2 separate regions of the Homo sapiens genome follow, and region 1 is linked to region 2. The links are contacts of gene promoters, found by promoter capture Hi-C in human tissues and cell types (Jung and others, 2019). All regions are on one chromosome and are shown on one strand. Each heading gives the region's core, a stretch centred on a gene start or on the middle of the fragment in contact. The rest is flanking DNA. Distances are from core to core; before and after follow the strand shown.

What was found. Contacts are between HindIII fragments. The study calls those that stand out against the background at their distance.
Region 1: a contact is called between a fragment that was not itself captured here and the fragment with the promoter of MCTP1 in region 2, in 3 of the 25 tissues and cell types used here (bladder, small bowel and thymus).

Annotation. Positions count from the first base shown.
Region 1 is chr5:95,172,597-95,177,448 of GRCh38, reverse strand. All of the region lies in intron 1 of MCTP1 (multiple C2 and transmembrane domain containing 1), which reads left to right. LOC105379085 (a long non-coding RNA gene) reads right to left here. Exons shown (of 8, transcript XR_948575.3): 4 at 2,690-2,843. Among named protein-coding and RNA genes, the nearest start is that of MCTP1, 110 kb to the left of the region's middle. The HindIII fragment of the contact is 5,787 bases long and covers 220-4,852 here.
Region 2 is chr5:95,283,193-95,288,376 of GRCh38, reverse strand. MCTP1 (multiple C2 and transmembrane domain containing 1) reads left to right here and starts at 3,283. Exons shown (of 23, transcript NM_024717.7): 1 at 3,283-4,521. The coding sequence starts at 3,802. RefSeq lists silencers at 3,935-3,994, 4,075-4,194. The HindIII fragment of the contact is 12,418 bases long and covers 1-5,184 here.

The DNA.
Region 1 (4,852 bases), core at 1,864-4,363, 110 kb after region 2:
TTTCTACCATTAAACATAACTTCATTAATCCAGCCAATGGATCATAGAATTATTTCAACTTCTAAATCTTAGATGGACTTTCAGACAGAGTATTAAACCGGAGATCATACAATTTATCTGAGTTTTGTAAAAGCACATTGCCTTTGGAGTCTTCCCTACAGCTCTGCCTAGGGCCCAACTCATCAGATTTTGGACTCATTAAATCTCCACAATCACAGGAGCCAATTCCTTAAAATAAATCTCTTTCTCTCTGTGTGTATGTGGGTACATGTAAATATAAATATATAAATATAGATATAAAAATAAATATATATTTCTATGTATACACACCCTAATTCTGTTTCTCCGGATAACCCTAATATATATTATGTGTATATATTATGTATGTGTATTTCATGTCTCTCTCTCTCTCTCAAATTAGCTGGGCATGGTGGCGGGCGCCTGTAGTCCCAGCTACTCGGGAGGCTGAGGCAGGAGAATGGCGTGAACCCAGGAGGCTGAGCTTGTAGTGAGCGGAGATTGCACCACTGCACTCTAGCCTGGGCGACAGAGCAAGACTCTGTCTCAAAAAAAAAATGTAGGTATATATATATTTTTATTTTTTATATTTGAGACAGTGTCTCACTCTGTTGCCCAATCTTGGCTTACTGCAGCCTCGATCTCCCAGGCTCAGGTGATTCTCCCCACTTCAGCCTCCTGATTAGCTGGGACTACAGACATTACAGGCATGCACCACCATGCCCAGCTAATTTTTTGTATTTTTAGTAGAGACAGGGTTTTGGCATGTTGGCCAGGCTGGTCTCAAACTCCCGGACTCACAAAATCTATCCTCCTTGGCCTCCCAAAGTATGTATATGTATTTTTAAATGAAAACTTATTGGAGAAAAAGACTTTATATCAATACTGCTGTTTTTGTTGTTGTTTAAAACAGAGTCTCACTTTGTCGCCCAGGCTGGAGTGCAGTAGTACAATCTCAGCTCACTCCAACCTCTGCCTCCTGGATTCAAGCGATTCTCCTGCCTCAGCCTCCTCAGTAGCTGGGATTACAGGTGTGTGCCATCACACCTGGCTAATTTTTGTATTTTTAGTAGAGATGGGGCTTCACCATGGTGGCCAGGCTAGTCTCGAACTCCTCGGCTCAAGTGATCTGCCCACCTTTGCCTCCCAAAGTTCTGGGATTACAGGCGTGAGCCACCACGCATGGCCTACTACTGCTCGTTCTTATGTGCCCCAGACCTAGAATAGTGCTGGGCATACTAAACAAATATTTGTTAAAAAAAAATACATTTTATCAATTAGAATAACAAAGATAGTTTTTAAGTCCTTTCACATCAAGTAGCTCATTTGATTTTCTCAAGGAGGCAAGAAGGCCTATAAATAGGAATCACCAGTATTTTATAGGGAAGAAATGCAGACTCAGAACGCTGGCATGAGGTTTTGGTGTTAGAGCCAGATTTCTTGCCTTTCAGCCTGCGTTTTGTCCATCTTATCCTGATATTCTGCTAGCACTTCTGGAAAACAAAAGGGTAATAGAGATGTCAGTTTTTTATGTTTTTGTTTTGTTTGGTTTTGAGAAAACCTTATGTAATTTTTCTTTCTTTTGGAGTGAACTGAATTCACTGGGGGAAGCATGTGCTGGAGGCCAGCAACATCCTGGCAGGTGTGAGTGGGTGGGCCTCTGAGGGCCGTGCTGAGGACACCTTGTTTACGTAGAGGAAACAGGACTGCAGAAAGGCATTTCTCCTTACACTTAAAATCCAGTTGTGCTGAAAATCTGGACCTACCCATAAGCTATTTCAAGCAGTCTTCACCAAAGCCATCCTTTAGAATGCTTTAGAATTTGATTTGCAAGTGGATTTTTCTGTTATGGGAGTCAGGGTTTATTGTGTGGTAGGAGGAGAATTTACTTTGGATATTCTTTTAATTCCTTCCATGTGCCCCAAATGTTTTTCTAATTGTTCCTCAGCTGAGAAGATAGCTTCATGAAGGAATAGAGGGAAAGGGTACCAATGTTTGTTGAAACAGGTGCCAGTCAGCCACACTGAGTGAAAACCAAACTGAGTCCAGGAACACGAGTTTGGTTTCAAGCTTCTTGTGCCATTTCCTGCGTGTTTGCCTGCTAAAGGGCAGTTGAGTGTTCAAAGCTATCCCTCTCAATTGAAAACTCATCTGACAATAATGAAGCGTGTCAGCTCAGAAAGGCATTAGGAGCTGGAGACATAGCCAAGTGCTTGTATTCAACATTGATTAATGAATTGGTTCTAATCTCAGAGCATCATTTTCACTTATAATTTTTAACTCAAAAAATTGATTTAAAAGTGCAATATAAGTTTAATTCTATTTTTTTCCCACTGTGTCTGGAGAACAAGTTTTTTTCTTGCATTTTTCCCTTTTTCCCTCAATTTACTTAAGCATAGATTTTATGTCATTCTCTCATCACATACCAAAAAACTTAGCAGTTGTGCCAATATAATAAATGTTGAAGTAAGAAAGACAGGGAGACAAATGGAAAAAAAAGAGAATACAAAAAGTATGGCTAACATTATGTAAGAAGAAAAATACAAATGGCTTTCTAGTAACCAAATAAGATGTACACATGAACTTCATAAATATCCTATTGCTTTGTGGAGACTTTCGTTTTATTTTAGAATAATTAAAAATAGTAATTAACAGTTTATTGAGTACTTACTTTATGCCAGGCTCTGTTCTCAGGACTACTCATGAAATAACTCACAGAATCCATACAGCAACCTTATGAAGGAGGTCTGAGGGGAGTCCCCATTTTACATGTGAATTACGCTGTGAGGCAAGGGAGCTGAAGTAGTTTGCCAAAGGTCACACACCTAGTAAGTAGGGGAACAGATTCAAACAAGAATGAGACAGACATTTTCTGTTATTTTTCACATGCAAAAATGTCTCTATTCTACCTCACCATTTGATTAATAATTCTGGGCTAAGAAATAATTTCTTTTAGAATTTGAAGGCTTGTTCTTATAACTTTTAACTTGTAATATTTTTTTGAGAAATCTAAGCCATTTTGATTTCTCATTCTTTGCATATGGCTAGTTTTTGGTTCTTGGGTTTAGTATCTTTTCATTATCTCTGATTTTGAAATTTTATGATAATGAGCATTAATAATTAATACGGGTTTTGAAAAAAATGTGCTGGACAGTTGATGGGCCATTTTATATGATACATGGTCTTCATTTTGGGGAAGGTTTATTTTCGTCCTCTTTTGATCCCATCATTATCCCTCTGATTTCTCTTTGGAGCATGCATTTATTCATTCAACAAATAGTTATCATGCCCCTCCCCTAGCAAGGCATTGTAATTCTGTGCTAGAGGTAATAGCAGTGAACAAAACATTGCCCTCATGGAGCCAATTTGATATTGGGCCTTCTTGATTGACCCTTTAATTAGCTTGTTTTTCCTGTAGTCCATCCTTTCAACTACTTTATATTATTTTCTGAAATATTTCCTTGGCTTTTTCTTCCATTTCTTTAACTGATTTATTTTTAATTTCAGTTCTTTCATTTTTAATTTCCAATTACTCTTTCTTGTTCTCTGATTTGTTTCTTATCTCTCTCTGAGAAAATTAATTGTTGCTTTTTTTTTTTTAAGTATTCTCCATTCCCTTCATAGCCTCTATTAACTCCAGATTGCTTTGTGGTTGTTTATTTGGGTCTCTTTTATGTTGGTGGCTTTCCCTAAATGTCTGATGATTCTTGTCTCTGTGCTCATACTTAAGAGTTAAGCACTAAAATACTGATTAAATTTTCTGCCTACATGTGTGAATATATACTCTGGTAAATTGCTCTAAATGTCAATTATGTGGCCAGGAGGTAAAGGGAGGAGAAAGTAGAATTGAGACTGGATGTAATTGTTAGGATCAGAATGTAGCATGCCTTGCCTACCAAGGTAAGCAGTTTAACCTTTACTTTATAAACACTGAGGAGCTAGATGATGGCTATACTTGAGGTGAGTTATTAGGAGTCTCTCCTTGTAGTCCTAGGATGCAAATTTTCTGTCTTTGTTTCATTCTCTCATAAATTTTTTTTCTGGTTATGATTATATTTTACTTGTAGTGACTAAATATTATTTATTCCTTCCACTTGCCATATGCATTCCCAATATAATTTAGTTCTTGCAATTTGAATAGAGGAATCAAGTAGTAACTCTAGTCAGTTATTCTCCTGCTGCCTAGGAAATCACTGAGTTCTAATAGATTGAAATTGCTTGTAGCCTCATGGGCTCTAAGAGTCAGTCAATAATGTGTATTTTCAAAGTAGATGTTTTAGTAACTACTCTTTTGGTAAAGTAACATTGTGAGTCTTCGATCTCCATACAAGAAAATAATCTTTATTTGTTCTAAATAATTCCAAGTAAATACATGATAGTTTTCAGTTCAACAGACTATACAAAAAAACATCAGAACAACTTCTTTTCCTAAAAAAAAGGCTGAAATTAATATGGTCTATAATCTGTGAAAATTACCATGTGTAAATGAAGAGGGACTATGTTCCTATTCAATGAATGCATATACTTATTGTTAAGCTCTAGGGTGTTTATTGTGTTCTCTCAGAGCCCTTTGCATTCCTAAGCTCTTGGAGATTTGACCTATGGTAACACTGCCCCTACCATAAGCAATGGGGTAATTGGCTTTAAAGTAAGGAAATGGCACACAACAGAACAAGAGATACCATAGTTCTCTCACTCAGATCCTTAATTTATTCAACAAATATGTATTGTGCATATATTATGAACCAGACACCACTGATAAAAGGCAAAATTCACATCTTGGTAGAGCTCTGCAGTGCCTCATGTAGTGCTAGACATCATACAGGCACCAAAA
Region 2 (5,184 bases), core at 2,034-4,533:
AATTCATATGATGGATGTGTTATTTGGGATTATAGATTTCAGAACTCAATATCTCAGAGTATTTTAAGACAGGTAGAAGAGAAAAATAATATTAAAAAGTCAATTAAATGCATTGAAGACTAAATGAATTTAAGGTTGAATTGTGTAGCATTATCTCCAGTCTACAATTATAACAAACTAGAAACAAAATATTTTTCCTCTTGTTCTCTCTAGAGAATAAGATTTCTGGGTAGTCCAGTTTCTTTTTGTGCTTTCAGAGCAGCTTTATATTCAGGTAGTTTTTTGTGGTCTTGGTGCTTTCAGCTTGATTGGTGTAGAAAAGACAGTTTGCCTTGGGCTTTTGAAAATGATCTCCATATTGATTTAATAAGGGATTGATGCAGGTTTGGAGCGAAAGCCTCTGAAGTTGGTGTGTAGCTCGCTTTGTAAGACTAACACTACCTTGAATGGCCAAGTCCTTAATGAAGGTTTCTACTTATTTTGATGGAGATTTTCAGTTTTATAAAGCTCCCATATATAAAGCTCATAAATACTCCAGAGAGAGTTAACACTTAAGCCACCACCAGCTTACACAGTTAGACTTAGCTATGATATTTATAATTTAGCTGAAGAGTTTTAACTGAAACTTTAAAAGGTTTACCTGAAACTTTGAAAAGTAAGGACTAACACAGAAATAAAATACAGAGAAAGGAAACTGGAGTGAAGAGGAAGGAAAAGCCAGTGAAAAATGCCAACCCTTCTGCTTTCACCCGGTGGGGAGGTACCTCCATAAAGGCAAATGTGGTTGGCTTTTCTTATTCTGTGTGGAGAGTGCTTCACAGCCTCTGTGTTTACCTTTGCAGTTGTGAGCTTGCCCTAATGTGGACTCTGCCTCACCAGTCCTGACTTTTCCCTCATTTGCTTCTCAGAGGCTTCCTCAGGAATTAGGTGGGGTTGGCCAGAACAGAGCTACAAAGAAAGGGTAGGCCATCGTAGCTCTAAGACTGTTTCATTCTCTAATTATTAAGGTTCCAAAGGAAAACTTTCAGCAGCACACAATTTTTTCAAAAAAACATGCTTTATTATTGTTTGCTTTTATTTATACTTTAAATTTTAAAATAATTATGGACTCACAGGAAGTTGCAAACATACTACATAGAGCTCCTGTGTGACCTTCACCCAATTTCCCCCAATGATATTATCATACATAACTATAGTTCAATATTAAGACCCAGGAAATTGCCATTGGTACAACTTATCTTATTCAGATGTCACGTTTTTATGTGCATTCATATATGTATGTAGTTCTATGCAGTCCTATCCTGTGTATAACACACATTCATGTAACCACCACCACAATCTAAATTTGTCTCATCATAACAAATAAACTTCTTTATTCTGATCCTTTACATTTGCCCCACCGCTAACCCCTGGCAACCACTATCCATCTCTATAATCTTGTCATTTCAATAATATTATTTAAATGCAGCCCAGTGTTTCTCCATTCACGTTGCTCTTTTTCCAAAGCATAGTATTCATATACTTGGGAAATACTGGGTCTACCAAATAACAATAATATCAACTATATACAGGCACTGAGCTAAGTCCTTTTTCCACTTAATCTTCAAAATAGCCCTGTGAGGCTATTTATTAATACCTGGCATTAGTATTAGTAAATCACATCACATTACCCTCACGATTAAAAAAGACCTCTAATGTCTCCCAATTTCATTTAGAGGAAACATGGACTCTCACTCTGGCTATAGGACCCACTCCCTTAGCTGACCTTTTGTTTCACTACATCTCTTACCAACCCCACCCACCTTGCTCTACTCTATTTGGAGTGGTATCGTTCTGTCCTTGAATATGCCCAGTCAAGCTGCTTCCTGCCTCAGGACCTCTGTATCTGCTGTTCCTTCTACCTGAAATTCTACAGTCAGATCCGTCAATAGCTGGTTCTCTGTCCTCATTAAGTCTTAACTCAAAATTTTATCTTCTCAGAGAGACTCTCCCTGTACACATAATGTAAAAAACCAAAAACCTCTCCATATGGGGCTGCCAGATTTAGCAAACAAAAACATGACACCCAGTTAAATTTAAATTTCAGATAAATAATAGTATTTTAGTATAAGTATGTCCCATGCAATATTTGGGACATACATATACTAATATTATTCATTGTTTCTCTGAAAGTCAGTTTAATTGGGTGTCCTGCATTTTGTCTGGAAGCTCTTCCTCTGTAGCCACTCTGTTATGTGGTACCCTGCTTAACTGTTTCCATGGGACTTTTGCATATTAGAAATTCTGTTTATTGTCTCGCATCACCTCCCAACCCTCACCCTCACAATAAGCTCCATGTGGGTGGGACCCTGATGCCCTGTTCACAGCTGCATCCCCAGAGCCTATCACAGTGCCTGGTATATAGTAGGTGCTTAATAAATATTTGTTATAAAGGTAACAAAAACAAAACAAAACAAAAAACTTAGGTTGGTAACACCTCCAAAGCATACTGCTAGCTAGACAAGACTGATCAGTGTGCTACCGCAGCTTAGGGAACTCTCCCGTTTTCCCCATTTAGGAGGACGAAAGAGGCATTGTGTTGCTGGCCTTTCAGAAGTCTCTCCTAGCAGAATCAGAAGACCCTGGCTGAGCAGCTTTGGGAGAAGCAAAGTCTGAATGAGCTAAAAAGCCTTTTCCGTTTGCCTTGCAACAAGCAAATGAAGTAACCAAAGAAAAAATGCGCTTGAATGAAAAGAACAAGATTCTGTGCGTGCCGAATCGGATCAAAGGCAGTGCGCATCACCCATCTTCGTCCACCGTAAACTCCCTGCAACTTAAGGGCTGGCTTTATCGTCAGACTCCGGAAATGCTAGAACCTGATCATAAGAGACCAGTGCAGAGGCAAATAAAGAAAAGGGAGGGGTGGATGGGGATGAAGTCAAGACAGAAGAAATTAAACTCTCGTCTTGGACCCAGGGAGCGCAACGGGGCGGGGGCAGACGTCTTCAGCTTTAGAACTCCGTCGGGTTCATCGCTCAGTGTGGACGATCGGCGCCCCCACGAGACCCATCGAGGGCACATAGTTTCCACTCCAGCTCGCTTCATCCGACCCAGACGATCGCCAGCGCGGCCAGCGGCCAGCGCACAGCGAGCTGCCTGGGCAACTGTGGCCGGATCCTAGGGAGCAAGCTGGCTTCGGGCCCTACCTAGCTCCACCCGGCTCCTACCGGCCCTCCCACCTAGGAGCTGGAGGATGGTCCCGGGGCGCCCCAGGGGGACTGCTGGTCCCCGGAGTCTCCAGCCAGACGCGCCTTGTTGTGTGAGCCGCGTGCGCGCCCAATTTGGAGGCAGCCGCCCCCGCCGCTGACAGGTGCTGCCCAGAGGGCGCCGGGTGCGGTCCCTGGCGCAGCTGGACGCGCACGCCCCGGTGCGTGCAGCTTCCCGAGCTCGGTCAGAGAGAAGAGGGAGCCAGGGCGCGGCCTGGGGGACGCCAGTGGACTGGAGCCGCGGAGCTTCGAGGGAAAAACTTTGCAGGCGCCGCGGCCGGGATTCGGTTACGGCTCCAGCCCACCCCAGCAGGTGCGGGAGGAAGAGGCAGCGCCGGAGTCCCGAGGCCAGAGAGCCTCGGCGGCGGCGGCCGCTTCTTTCCCCCGAGCTGGCCTGAAGTCGCTGGGCACTCCCGGTTTCTGCTGCTGCGCCCGCCGCCGCCGCCGCCGCCACCGCCAGCGCCGCGGGGACCCGGGAGGAGGTGCAGCCGAAGAGGGAGGAGAAGCAGGAGGAGGAGGAGGAGGAGGAGGGGAGAGGAGGAGCAGGGGGTGGAGGATGGAGCCCCGGGCTGCCGCGGCGGGCGAGCCAGAGCCGCCGGCGGCGTCCTCCTCCTTCCAGGCCCGGCTCTGGAAGAACCTGCAGCTGGGGGTGGGCAGGAGCAAGGGCGGCGGGGGCGGGCGCGCTGGGGGTCCAGAGCGCCGCACTGCGGACACCCCGTCGCCCTCCCCGCCACCCCCGGTGGGCACAGGGAATGCACCGGCCAGGGGGAGTGGTGCAGGCAGCAGGTGGAGCGGCTTCAAGAAGCGGAAGCAAGTGCTGGACCGAGTCTTCTCCTCCTCGCAGCCCAACCTGTGCTGCTCGTCGCCGGAGCCCCTGGAGCCCGGCGGCGCCGGCAGAGCCGAGCAGGGGTCCACGCTACGCCGCCGGATCCGCGAGCATTTGCTCCCCGCCGTAAAGGGGCCCGCGGCGGCCTCGGGAGCAGCGGGAGGGACGCCTCCTGGCGGACGCTCCCCCGACTCAGCTCCTTCCTCTTCCTCCGCCTCATCCTCCCTGTCCTCCTCGCCCCAGCCTCCCCCGAGGGGGGACCGCGCCCGAGATGAGGGTGCACGGCGTCAGGGCCCCGGGGCGCACTTGTGCCACCAGAAGAGCTCCTCTCTGCCGGGCACCGCCTGCCTGGAGCAGCTGCTGGAGCCGCCGCCTCCTCCCGCAGAGCCGGCGCGGAGTCCCGCGGAGTCTCGGGCCCCGGAGACGGGCGAGGAGCACGGCAGCAGCCAGGTGAGTGCCGGTGGCGCGGCCGGAGACAAGGTGCGCGGGACCACGCCTCCCTCTTCAGGCGTTCACCACCCGGGGAGCGGGGGGCGGGGGCCGGGAGGCGGGAGGAGAAATGCTATTAATTCTAAGTAGATGAAACAGTCGAAAGAAAACATCTCGCTCTGGTTTAGCAAAGATGAAAGAGTTCTGACTTGCACCCGGACTTTACTTTTGGTAGAAATGATACCTGTCACCAGAAGCTTTCTGAGTAGTCAATGAAAAGTTAGACCTAAAGTGGGTACTTTTTAGAGTTCTCCTGAAAGGAGATGTCCAGCCAAATCTCATCTTGGCAAAAGAAAAAACTAACCCAATAACTTAAAAACAATTACGATCACGTGTGGTGGTGTGGAGAGGTACCATTGGAAGCAAATGGCTGGCGGGAAGAAATAGAAACGTGGAGAGGTAAATTATGGCACATGTGAGGTCCTGTGCCAGGGAAAGCATCATCTCAGGCCTGCATCCGGCACCCCTTTCTTAAACCTTCCTGCTGCAATTGGATCACCGCCCTTCAAGTGGACAGCGGGAGCGTCTCCTCCCAGTTAGTCAAATGCATATGTTCCTATGAGCCTTGTGAAGTTTTAATAGTCACCTGAAGCACTTGCTTTTTAAAGTATGCTGCTTTATACA